Linked DNA regions of Homo sapiens: region 2 is linked to region 1. The links are contacts of gene promoters, found by promoter capture Hi-C in blood cells and fetal thymus (Javierre and others, 2016). All regions are on one chromosome and are shown on one strand. Each heading gives the region's core, a stretch centred on a gene start or on the middle of the fragment in contact. The rest is flanking DNA. Distances are from core to core; before and after follow the strand shown. Region 1 holds the start of UBE2W (ubiquitin conjugating enzyme E2 W). Region 2 overlaps MSC-AS1 (MSC antisense RNA 1).

Evidence for each region. Contacts are between HindIII fragments. The CHiCAGO score rates a contact against its expected background, and 5 or more counts as called.
Region 2: a fragment that was not itself captured here is called in contact with the fragment with the promoter of UBE2W in region 1 in 1 of 17 cell types (M2 macrophages); the score reaches 5.3 in M2 macrophages.

The regions. Positions count from the first base shown.
Region 1 is chr8:73,875,469-73,881,889 of GRCh38, reverse strand. UBE2W (ubiquitin conjugating enzyme E2 W) reads left to right here and starts at 3,028. Exons shown (of 6, transcript NM_018299.6): 1 at 3,028-3,082. The coding sequence starts at 3,068. It overlaps LINC01617 (long intergenic non-protein coding RNA 1617), which reads right to left and starts at 2,908. Exons shown (of 3, transcript NR_147034.1): 1 at 1,193-2,908. RefSeq lists silencers at 2,796-3,085, 3,226-3,275, 3,296-3,555 and enhancers at 2,942-3,819, 4,296-4,345. The HindIII fragment of the contact is 3,471 bases long and covers 2,029-5,499 here.
Region 2 is chr8:71,845,523-71,852,253 of GRCh38, reverse strand. The region is part of intron 2 of MSC-AS1 (MSC antisense RNA 1); the gene reads right to left. Among named protein-coding and RNA genes, the nearest start is that of MSC, 4.5 kb to the right of the region's middle. RefSeq lists an enhancer at 648-737 and a silencer at 6,335-6,384. The HindIII fragment of the contact is 2,952 bases long and covers 723-3,674 here.

The sequences.
Region 1 (6,421 bases), core at 1,779-4,278:
GATCCAAACAATGTTAACATATGCATTTGTTCAATGTACTCTTACGTGGCCAAGCATGGCCTGTAATCCCTGTAATGCCAGCACTTTGGAAGGCCAAGGCAGGTGGATCACTTGAGGCCAGGAGTTCGAGACCAGCCTGGGCAACATGATGAAACCCCGTCTCTACTAAAAATACAAAAAATTAGCCAGGTGTGGTGGCACATGCCTGTAGTCCCAGCTACTAGGGAGGCTGAGGCAGGAGAATCACCTGAGCCCGGCAGGCTGCAGTTGCAGTGGGCCAAGATCGCGCCACCGCACTCTAGCCTGGGTGACAGACTGAGACTCCGTCTCAAAAAAAATATATATATATATATAAATATATATATAAATATATAATATATATATTTTATATTATATATAAATATATATATTTATAATATATATATAAATATATATAAAACTCATATGATGCTATTAAGAAGATCCAGTAAGGATATGGGAAACTTTAACTTCATTATTGCCGAACTATTTTCCAAAGTGATTGCACTAGTGTCACTCCTATAGAGTTTATGAGAGCTCCACTTCCTCTCTCACTTTTGGTATTGTCAGATATTTTTTTTGAGACAACAGGGTCTTGCTCTGTCACCTAGACTGGAGTGCACTGGCATTATCCTGTCAGACATTTTAACTTTTGCCTATCTGATAGTAATGATAGTAAGCCTCGCTCTGTAGAAATATGAGCCTAGTCTTCAAACATGGCATAATAGTGTTTTAGATATTAACATTACATGCTCACTGGAGATAATTATATACCCCCCATACCATCTGTAAGTCACTGTTTTGGCTCCTATGTCAGGATCTTTTTATTAAATATTAACAAAAGAATGGCCGGGCGCAGTGGCTCACACCTGTAATCCCAGCACTTTGGGAGGCTGAGGCGGGTGGATCACGAGGTCAGGACTTCGAGACCAGCCTGGCCAACATGGTGAAACCCCCATCTCTACAAAATATACAAAAAAATTACAAAAAATTAGCAGAGCGTGGCGGTGTGCGCCTGTAATCCCACCTACTCGAATCACTTGAACCTGGGAGGCAGAAGTTGCAGTGAGCCAAGATCGCGCCATTGCACTCCAGCCTGGGTGAGACTGAGACTCCGTCTCAAAGAAAAAGAAAAAAAAAAGAAGACAGGTTATTATGTGCTATTTAGTATTACCTAGAAAGGATATGACTGGCATTGACTTTTCCCTCCTGAGAAGATACTTCTAACATATATGAAACCCAAGGGACCAGATATTGGATCCACTGTGATGAGTGTCAGAATTCTTGTAACCTCTTTTTTCCTTATTAGTATCTGTCATGCCAGGTTGTTGGCTCTGATGATGTCATAATGCTTTGTTTGTAGGGTCATCCGATGCTACTGTTTCCACAGGAACAATCAGCTTTTAGGCAAAGTGAACCTTGGACGGTAAAAGCTGATCTTCTGAGGTCATAGGAATAAATATATCTCAAAGAAAATACACTGGAAACTTCTTCTTTAAGTTTTCCTCTTTCATTGGAATATGTGGGTTTCCTCACTGTTGTAATGTTGATGACACAACAAGGCTAACACCGGATATGCTTCTGGCTGATTCCGGTTTACCAAGAGCATCCAAACATCCCTCAAGGACACAGTCATTTTGCACAACAAAGGGAAACTCCGCTCATTTCTGGCATTAAGGTGGACATCTGAGAAAGGGGAGGGTATACCACCATAACTTCTCTAGTGATGAATAGTGTTTAATATTATACCATAGACTAACTGGCGTATTTTAAAGATCTTTTTCCTTTTTGAACACATTTCAGATTAGAGAAGTTCCAGAGAACGTAATCTATTTTAAGAGTGTGAAAGAGTGATATTCCACATTGCTTTTATATCTTAAAGAAATTTCTAAAAAGAAAGCCGAGTCAATAAAATGACAGATTTTAAGCCTTCATTCTGGTAACATAAAAGCCTTCTACTCATTGTGTCTGCCACCTTAATTTTTAAAGATAGAGCATGAGGTGTAAGCTTTTGGCTTCCATTTTCCTCTTATAAACCAATGACATCTTCAGTTCCAGAATAGCTTTTTAAAAACGTGACTTCTGATAAATGTTGGCAGAACTGGTGCATTCCTAAAATAAATTATGTATGCTCAGCTTTCCCTACCCAAGTTCATCCCTAAATGACCACAAAACTGCCCACCACGAACTATGCTTAAGAGAAGTCTGGACATAATGGTATAAGTGTATATAACACGACATTGGTATATTTAAAAAAAAATTCATGCCTAGGGTCAATTCTGATAATCAAATTTAGACTGCTGCAACAACCGTAACTATTGTTGATATATGCGCAGTTTAAAAGTGAAGGGCGGGGGTAAGGGGCAGAAACTGCACACAACAAACTTCCAAATTTTGTCTCCCTTTTCAGGCAAGTTTCAGCTCCACAAATCTAAATACCCTCGCCTTTAAAATATCAGTGTCGTTCTGCTCTTAAATCCTCATCCCGTTGTACAAGGAAACCTATGTCTCTCTTCCCCAAATTAAGAATACGAGAAGCCTTCCAGGTCTGCAAATACCAGAAAGCAGCTGCGCATGAAGTTTTATGGGGCCCCAAGGCTCTGAGAGTGGGCTTGGAGGTATGGAAAACACATCCCAAGGGAAAAATCTGTGAACCGCACAACTGTGGTTGGAAACGAAATAGGAAAAAAACTGCGCGGAACCGGACGTCATCAGCATTTCGCGGTACACACGAAGAAAACAACCGTAGTCGGGTCAAAACTGGAGCCGTGTCTCCTCAGTAACGAGAGTAAATGGGGGCCCGACGCGTGAGCGGCCAGCCGGACTGAGACAGAAAGTACTCAGAGCGCCATTTACCGCGCCCTCGCCCCGCCCCGTAGCCCCTCCTCCCGTCCGCCCTGCGCGCCAGCCAATCCCCTCGCTCCATCCCCTTCCCATCGCAGACCCCGCCCCCGCGCCCGGGATGTTGAGCCCCCGCGGCGTGACGCGAGCACGGCAGCTCCTCCCCCTGCGTCTCTGGCCTCGCCGGTCTTGGGGGGATGGTTCCATCATGGCGTCAATGCAGGTGAGAGGAGTTTGCTGCATCTGGGCGGGCCAGGGAGCCGCCGAGAGAGTGCCAGCGTTCGGGCGGGGGTGGCGTCCGCGATTCGGGGACACCCGGGCGGGTTCGGGATCGGTCCGGGTGGCCTGTTTTCCCTCAGCTCAGGGCGTCGGGGGAGGGGTAAGAGGCGGCGAGAGGCGTTGTGGGGGGTGCGGTATCCGTCGGTCGAAGCGGACACCAGCCGGCCGGGAAGTTGGGTGATAAAGGAGGGTTGGGGAAGAAAGGGCAAAGTCTGGCGTTGGCGGTCTCAGAATCGGCTCCCCGCACACACACACGGGCGCTGCCAGTCTGCTGCCCGCCAGCCCCAGGGTTGCCTTTACCCCCGCTGTCCCTGGCCCGACGGAAACAGCTGCGCCCGCGGTTGTTGCCGGGGCAGGGGCGGCGGGGGGCTGAGTGTGCGGGAGCCGAGAATGCGTCTCCGGAGAAGGCGGCTGGCTGCGGACGGCGCTTAGCGGCCTCTGCTCCGGCCTCCCACGCCGGGCCCCCCAGACTGCTCGGCCCCGTCCCTCTCTTCTTCCCTTTGACTCTTAATCCTGTGCCCGTGGGTATCTTCTATTTCCATCAGCCTCGGTATTCTCGCGGACATTCCTCCAGCAGTCCACTGTCTCCTTCCTCTCGAAGCTGCCCCGTGTCCACCGCCTGATGGGCGATCTCCCGAGAGCCGAGTCCTCAGCCCCCTTAAACCTCTCGGGATAGCTTGCCTTCTATTTTGTTTCCCACTGCAAGGCCCCACCCTTGCGGTCGCGATAAGGCTATACATCTCTTTGCCCTTATTCCCAGACCTTTAGTGGAACCTTAGTTTGGTAGGAGGCGTTTGTTAACCTGTGCCATATCCCCCCGACTTAGCAAGGCGTGGTTTTCTGGCTTTCCAACTTAATTTACTCCTTTTTCCCGAATCTAGGGAGTTGTGGGTTTTTTTGTTTTTTGTTTCCAGGCAAAGATGGCAACCACAATTGTAGTTGTGCAGGGATTGAGTGCGTTATCTGTAGCCTGCATTTAATTCACAGGTGAAGACTAGCGGTATCAAAGGCATTGGAAGAGAAAGTAGAACGCTCAATAGGAGTGTCAGCTGAGTACCCTTTAGCGTTTTCATAATATCCCCTTGGGTAAAGAGACCACATTTTCTTAGAAGTGTTTTTTGCTTTTGTTTCTGGAAGAAGCAAGTCTCTGTTCCTCCTCCATTTTTTTTTCTTTACTCTGCTAAAAGTGTTTTTCTTCCCTTTTCTGCATCTTCTTCCTCTTTTGTACAAATATAGCTTTGCTTCACATTTACTCCTGTGCTTTTATGTTATTCCCCTTTCAACCTGTTTTCCTTACAATATTCTCTTTACCTTGCTTCTCCCTCTGGACTTGCCTGCAGAACAGAAAAGTTTTATGTAACATTTCTAGTTGAAGAGATATCACGAATGGTGCAGGGAAAAAACAGGAACAATTTCAGGAAACATTATACTTTACACTAGTCTCCCCAGAGACGTTGGAGAAGTTTCGTCATTTGAGGCCAAAAAAGGAACAGTGGAATGCTAGTTGAACAGTAGATGCAATAGGCTACATTACCACTTAAAGATTTTTATCTGTGTTAAGATTAAAACATTTTTTATGACAAGTTTAAGATTATTATCTGTATTAAGATTAAAACATTATTTGAGGCTAAACATTAAGATTAAAATCCACAACACTTGTATTTGACAAGAGAACGTAGTGTGTCATCTCGTTAGATTTAGTATCTGGAAAAGGCAGATTTGTTTGTAAGAGAGAGGTTGGTAATCTTGAACTTGAACTTTACATGGTGTCTTTTTTCTTTTTTGAGATGGAGTTTCGCTCTTGTTGCCCAGGCTGGAGTGCAATGGGGCGATCTTGGCTCACCGCAGCCTCCACCTCCCGAGTTCAAGCGATTCTCCCACCTCAGCCTCCTGAGTAGCTGGGATTACAGGCATGAACCACCACGCCCAGCTAATTTTGTATTTCAGTAGAGACGGGGTTTCTTCATGTTGGTCAGGCTGGTCTTGAACTCCCGAACTCAGGTGATCCGCCTGCCTTGGCCTCCCAAAGTGCTGGGATTACAGGTGTGAGCCACCGTGCCTGGCCTACATGATGTCTTAAGAATTGGAAACAAATACTTGATTGACAGTGCAATAGTGCATTTTTCTGTGCCCTAAGTATTACTATCTCAGACTCTTACCACCCTTTTAAGTTTTTCCTTCACCTTGTTCCATCGAAATCTTATCACTCTCTATTCTTCTGTGTTTTCTGGTTAGAGGAATGGAAAACGGATGCTTCCTATATTTATTGAAAAGTCTTTCCCTTTTTATTTGTATTTTAAAATATCTAGTGCAGATTTGCTGGTAGTATCTTTAAGAATATTTTAATATATATGTCAAGCTTTTTGAAAGACAACCCTACTTTCTGTGTGGTTATTCTGTATCTTTGTTATACAGAATTTATATCCTGACTATCTTAATGGCAACATTTGGCTCTTTTAAGACAACTAGATTATACATAAATCTTCAATAAAATTATCAACTTTGTTTATTCACTGAGCCAGTTATCTTTTGGGGGACCTCTATGTGTCAGACACTTATCTAGTTGCTGTGGTTATAGCAATGAACAAAAGCAGACAAGATTTCTGCCCTCATGGATTTAATAATAAATAGTCTCATAAGAAGAGACAGATAAGAACAGCATATTTAAGTTAATTGTGTTTTGTTCTTGTTTTTTGTGTTGAGATGGAGTCTCGCTGTGTTGCTCAGGCTGGAGTGCAGTGATGCCATCTTGGCTCACTGCAACCTCCGCTCCCAGGGTTCTAGCAATTCTCCTACTCAGTCTCCTGAGTAGCTGGGATTACAGGCGCTGGCCACCACGCCCAGGTAATTTTTTTTGTGTTTTTAGTGGAGACTGGGTTTTGCCATGTTGGCCAGGCTGGTCTTGAACTCCTGACCTCAGGCGATCCACTCGCCTCGGCCTCCCAAAGTACTAGGATTACAGGTGTGAGCCACTGCACGCGGCCAAGTGTGTTATTATATTAGAAGGTGATAGTGCAGTGGAGAAAAAGCATGGAAGAAGACTAGGAAATTGATCATTTGGGGATTTCGATTAGGAAAAAATAAGCTGTAACATGGAATGACCATGTCCTTAACCCAAAAAGCTTTTAGTAGATTTATCTAACCCACACCAGGATGTTGCTGCTGCTGCTGAAGTTACTTAAGCTCTAAGAGGAACTGTATTTTTTTTAAAATGCCATATTATACAAATGTAACATGGGATTTCATTACTTGGTAATGAGTAAAACAAGTAAGGGTAGACTTT
Region 2 (6,731 bases), core at 949-3,448, 2.0 Mb after region 1:
TTCCAAGTAACTCAACTGCATCTGAGAACAAAGATCAATAATATTTGGTGGAATACAAAAAATTCCCAGTACCCAAAGGGCAAAATTCATGGTGTCTGGCATCCAGCCAAAAGTTACCAGGCATGCAAACAGGCAGGAATATGTGACATATCATGAAGATAAAAAATGAATCAGAACTGACCCAGTCATGGAGCCAATATCCTGGCCAGGCTGGGTTTACTCCCTTTGCTTCCTTACCCTCTCCCACATCCTAATTTCAGCAGTTATCCAAGTCAGCCTCCCTCCATTTATGAGACCACTTTGTTCCCCATCTGCAAAGAAACTCAACTCCTGGACCTGGCAGGAGTTTCATCCCTACTTAACATTCATTTTCTGGTCCACTCCTCGTCTAAAGAGATATTTTCCTTGCTTTTGGACATGGCTGAATATTTTTAGTTTTTCTCTTTTCACATTTTAGCTCTCACTGCTATGTGTTTGGAGCACAGGCGACGCTTCAAAATGTGGTCTTACCAGACCATCTCAACTGAAAGTCCCCACCCATGACTTTCTGAAATGACTCCCTTGCTTTCAGTAACACTACTCTCTTGGTTTTCCTCTTGCCTCTCTGATTACTGCCTTTTTTCTCTGAATTCCCCTTCTCTGCTTAACCATTAAATTATTAAAACCATTAACCACTTTTAAGGGCTCCACAACTTGGCCCTTTGCTCTCCTTAATCTAAGCTTTGTAAGTGTGTGATCCCCTGAAATTTTATGAAGATTCTGAATTTTTTCAATCAGGAAAAAAAATGGTAGCAAATGGTACTAAAAGCACTATTTCATTTTCATATAGAGAAAAGAATGTTACTGGGATGTTTATAATAAATATAATTGTTGAGTTATTTAGACTTCCTCTGGGCGTTGTGGCAAGCACAGTGTATAATAAATAGAAAGATATATACTCCATTTGATAAGAGGAAATATTCCTTAGAAGTCCATTCAGTTAATAAGAAATGTAAAAGAGTCCTTATAACTGCTATCAGTGGGTAGAACACATAGTAATACACTGAGTTGGTTAAATAAAGGACAAATGATGGGTTGAGTACCTGTCTCCTGTTAATTATGAGTGCAGATGGGCTTGTGTTCATGTGTTGGTGAGAGTTTTCAATCATCAAATATTTATTTTTGTTAAATGGAAAAAAAATAATTTGAGAGAGTATCTCGCCCTGTCACCAGCACGTAGTACAGTGTTACAATCATGGCTCACTGCAGTCTCGACCTCCCAGACTCAAGCAATACTCACACCTCAGTCTCCCGAGTAGCTCGGGCTACGTGTGGTGCTCCCATGCCTGGCTACGTTTAAAAAATTTTTTGTAGCAATGGGGCCTCACTATATATCCCACTCTGGTCTTGAACTCCTGGGCTTAAGCAATTCTCCTGCTTTGTCATCCCAGAGTGCTGGGATTACAGGCATGAGCTACTGGGCCTGGCCCATCAAATATTTAGGTAGTACCTTTCATGAGTTGCTAGACACTAGGGATATCCCTATGAACAAGACACAGCCTCCGCCTTCATTAAGTTTACCATTTAATCTTTTTGTTTTCCTCTTACTTATTTTAATTTTGTTGGTCCCTTTCCTAGAGGAAGTTGCTTAAAGGTGGCAATGTAAGAAGAAATAGGAACGGAGTGATGAAACAAAGCATGAGAATACCTTAAGTAGTTCTGTTTCCAATATCCTCAAGGGTTCCTCCTTTAAAACTGAAACCTGAAGAGGAATGTAGTTGGGTTATTTTTGTTTATTTGTTTGTTTCTGCTAACTGGACAGAGTAGCACAAATGAGCCAAAGGGGGAAAAAGTACTATGAGAAGTGGGCATATTTCCTAAAATACCTCCCTGTTTTGATCATCTGTTAGAGCTCACTTTAGAATTGGAGGTCAGAGGGGCTTGGGACTAGGGAAACAAAGGTCATACGTAAATAAGTTAGGCCCTTCTTTTATAGATGAGTCGGTTAAGGGACTGGTTGACAAAGAGGACAGAATCCTTGTTCTGTGACACCAGGAAGTATCTATTACATGAGAACTTCCTTCTGGCACCAGGAGGCATTTAGCTGGTGTTCTATAGGGGATGAGCCATGGCTGGGGGTTGCACTTTGAGCAAGGCCCGCTACTGGGAGAGGGAACAGGGAAAACATGAGCTCCTACAGGAGAGAGAATGGGCATAATAATGTAATAACTGACCTTCTACAATGCTCCACAGTTTCCACAGGAGCCTGCATGCTGGCAATCTCATTTAACTCTGGCAACTTTCATGGGTTATACACAGAGAAACAAGCTACAAGAGTATAAGTATGTGGCCTGAGGCCTCTCAGCTGATAAATGCAGAGATCTCCTCATGTCCACAGCAAAAGGGGCTCTTTTCAGTACATGCCACATGGCAGGATGATATTTCTCTCCCGGGTTAACTCCACAATTAAACCAAGGTAGGCTTGGGACCACACACTGGAGACCAGAGCTGTGTGCTACAATTTCAAGGGCTGTTTTGGTACCAGAGTATTTTCACATTTCCAGGTATTGCCAATAAAACCACAAGTACTTAAAAGGAGAAAATCCCCTGAGACAGAACTTTCTTAGCTTCTGCATAAGAGTGAAAGGCTGTTCCAGGGGTTTACAAAATAAGATTATTTTCAGACCTACAAGCCACACTCCTAACCCAGACTAGGACTGGGTTAGTATTCTCCAACATCCTTCAGGATTCTCCAACATCATGGAGGGCCACGGATTATGTAAACAGGCCTCCTACAGAAGACTTCACTACAGCACCTTCACTTTCTGAAAGCTGGGCTTCTATACTAGGCCAATTGAGTAATCAAAGTCATTTACAGGAAACACACAGCATTCCAGTTGGAACTTGGGGTTCCCAGGACAGTTAAGCCTCAGCACCTGCTCCCTAAAATCTAGAGATATTGTTTAAAAAAAATTTCCTGCAGAAGCTGCCTACAGTTTTTGTTGTCAAGACAATCAATGAGGGCGTTTTTCTTTTCTCCTGAAAGGCTGAGTCTTATCGCTTTCCCTCTCCCCAGCCTACCCCCAGCCCCATTTTTCATTGTTTATTTGTTAAGCCTGGCTTTTCCACCTTCAACCTCCACAAACCATCCAGGCACTGGCTTCTCCATGCTAAGGCCTCATGACTTTCGGAGGGAAGGGTAAAAAATCTTGCTGCAATCCTTAGATAAATAAACCAGCAGCAGAGGCCTGTTTGTGTTGTGGATGACAAAGGACTCCACATGTAGGCTTTGACTATTTCCATGGATGCCCAACCTGATGGCTGGTAGAGCCCGGGTGAAGGGAGTTTTCTTCCTTTCCTGGTCTGAAGAGTGGTGGCATCCTGCACAACACCAGGACAGAGGCTGCCCTGAGCCTGGAGCAGAGCCCAAGGCTTTGTGCAGACAAGGGACAGGCCTTGGGTTATCCAGACCTAACCCTGGGTCTTACACGTGACCTGTCCCCACCTGACTGGCTCCCCATGTGACTAGCATGCCACGTGGCCAACACACACTGGGACTAGCATTCCATGTGACTAACACACCACTGAGGAGGAGCGTTCATTTTCCCAGCACGTGTGTGTGTCTGGTGGGGTGTGTTATAGACAGGAGGTTGAATACACGTGGTAAGACGCAGTCTGGATAATACAGAGAAGCTTATTTCCACAAGAATGTGCCCTCCCAGTGGGTGAGAGTGGGTCTCACCAACACCTTGCCACAACCAACAGTAGATACTCAGTCCATAGGGGTATAGTTAATCCATGAGATTAATCCCTGAGTTGTCCAATAGAAATATAATGGGACCGGTATATTTAATTCTACATTTTTAGTAACCATATGATAATAATTTTAAATGGTGAAATTAATTTTTGTAATATATTTCATTTAACCTAATAGATCCAAAATGTCCTCACAGATTGACATAAATTTATATTTTAAAATATTAATGAGAGCTTTTATATTCTTTTATTCATAGTAAGTTTTCAATACTGGTTATGCATTTTACACTATAGTACCTGAATAGCCACATTTCAAGTGCTCAATAGCCTAATGTGGCTAATGGCTTCCATATTGGCCAGTGCTGATCTAGATTATTCATTTTCCTAGATCAAAAGTATAGGCAATTGGCCGAAGGTATGGCAATTCCTCCAGGCAACAGGAGGCTGTGGGTTGGTCCCACTGCTGTTTCTTAAGTACCTACTCACTACATAGTTTTGGCATGGCCTTCACAGAGGACAGAGGAAGCCTTTGCTCTTCCTGAGTCCTAAGTCCACATGACCTACCCAGTTCTAGAGTTTCTCACCCATTACTTAATATGCTGTTGGAGGAAGGAAGTGGCAACAAATGGCCTTTTTTCTATGATGTGTAATTATCATCCCATCTCATGGCTCCCTTTTTAAAAAACAAACCAAGCCTGCATTGTTAAATGTTTCAATCTGTTAGGCACTGATCTGTGTTCCACCTGGGCATGCTCCTTTGACCTACACCACACCACCAGCAGGATTTCTGGCTTAATCCTTTATGCCAGTAGGGAAAGTAAGGCTTGGAAAAGCACTGCAATTTTAGGGTGAGAGAATTTGGGGGACGAAAAGAAAATTTCTAACGACGTCCCATCCATTTTTCCCTCAGTGAAGTCCCTCATGGGACCTGTGAAAAATGTCATGTGATGAGACCATGTACTTCAGACCCTAGCAGCCTGTAGTCAAAGCAAATGAAAGACCCTGGTACTATCTGAAACCCAGAATAGGCCCTGGAGTACAAAACTTGGGTCAGGTCATTGCCCTAACTTTTACTAGCTGTGTGATATTGGGCAAGGCAATTCATAATACTAACTAGCATTTACTGATCTTCTCCCATGTACCAGGCTCTGACCTAGCCAACTGCTCATATACTTTCTCTTCCGCTCAGAGAGATAATCCATTTTATAGATTAGAAAACTAGGGCTCAAAAAATGCAAATTCCAGAAGTCATATATCCAGCAAGCACGGAAGCCAGGATGAAGAAATATTAAAGGTAATATTAAAAGAATTATTAAATATTTTGTTTTATAATGCAACTTAAGCCCTACTCACCCCATTGAATATTTTTTAAATGTCACTAAAGAATTTCAAGACCATTGATGTACACACAAACAGTCTATACCTGTTTCACATCTAAGAGTTTGTAAAGCATAAGCAAATAGGAATTGATTTCAGTGTGTTTATAAGATAAAAATAAAGGCTGTATTATTCATTTCAGTATGTCACTTGTCAAAACCATGAAAAACACTGGGCTTTCAAAAGAGAGAGTTATACTTACACTGTTCAGCTCGAGAAGCTGTTGTAATCATCCAAGGAGAAGAAAAAGTAATAGCACTTTGAAAGTGGAAGGAGGTGACCAAATGCCAGATATTACAAACATGTTAAAGCAAACTGCAGTTATATGCTTATAAAAAATGCATATAAGGTACATTTCCTAACCTTCATTACCAGTCTGCAACTTGAAAACAGAGTTACAAGTGAAAATATAACTTAATTTCACAAAAATGAAAGAAATGGAGGTTAAATGAAAGATGATGAAACAAACAAAATAAAATAGCTGACTTTCTTGAAAGCGAACAGAGGGAGGGTGAGGAGATGGAGTAGAAGAGAAAGGGAGGGAAGTAGGGAGGGAGGGGAAGACAGAGAAAGAAGACAGGGAGGGAAAGGCGAGTGCTGTGAAAAATAAGCCCGAACTGGTGGGGTCAGACCATTTCTTCAAGAAATAAAGAAACTGGCCATGACCTCCTCAGCGTTGAGGCTGGGTATAGTTTTTGTGACTGTTTAGAGAAATCTAGCGCTCTCCTCACCATTAATCTTTTCTAAAGAAAGACTTTGTTCTGCACCTGTATAAACAATTCAGATTTTAAAAACCTATTCGCCTGCCCCTAATGTGTGAGACTATATATTTATACTGATAGCTTCAAGTCATCAATAGTCGTTGCAGAGAGCTAGCCTGGCTCTCCTCGGTCCATCTCTTTGCCCCTCTTTGTCGCTCTCCTCTCCTTCACCTGGCAAGGCGATCCTAGAGTCAAGTTCAAGTTCAAACGCTCCAGGAAAGATTTCTACACTCTGTCAAATATTCCCTGCATTTCCCTACCCTAGAGAGAGCTGAGGGCAAATGATCTTTTTATTCACATTGTCCCAGAACCAGCCCACCCCCTGCCCCCAACCAAAAGACAACTTGTACAGGGAGAAAACCTTTGCAAATGTGGGTGAGCCGGAGGGGTTATGTGAAACATTCCCCCGGCCCCAAAACGCCCCTGCTAAGGGTAGCGTGGCCTGGGAGACTAAGGTGGAATGATGCCTGAGTGATGAAGTCAGCCTCTGCCAGCCACCTGTTGCAGCACTTCAGCCATCGAGCTGGACGCATTTGTTCTGCTGTACGAACTGGCGGGAGCCAGGCTGGCCCAGCTATCTCTGCCAGCTCTGTCCTGGACTGACTCCACATAGGTCCCCTTGCACCTTGCTCAGCTTGGGAGCCTGTGGACTTTCAGGAAAAGAACAAGTGAACACCTAAGCCTGTGTGACGACTCAGTTTCATCATTGTAAAATGGGGTAACCATATGCCAAACTCATACGGGTTTTATTACTCAGTGAGCTGCTCACAAGCCGCGAGTACAGTGACGGGCACACAGCGGGCACTCAGTCTCTGACCACTGGGGCCCGTATCCACAGACGTACTTATCCCCTGACCA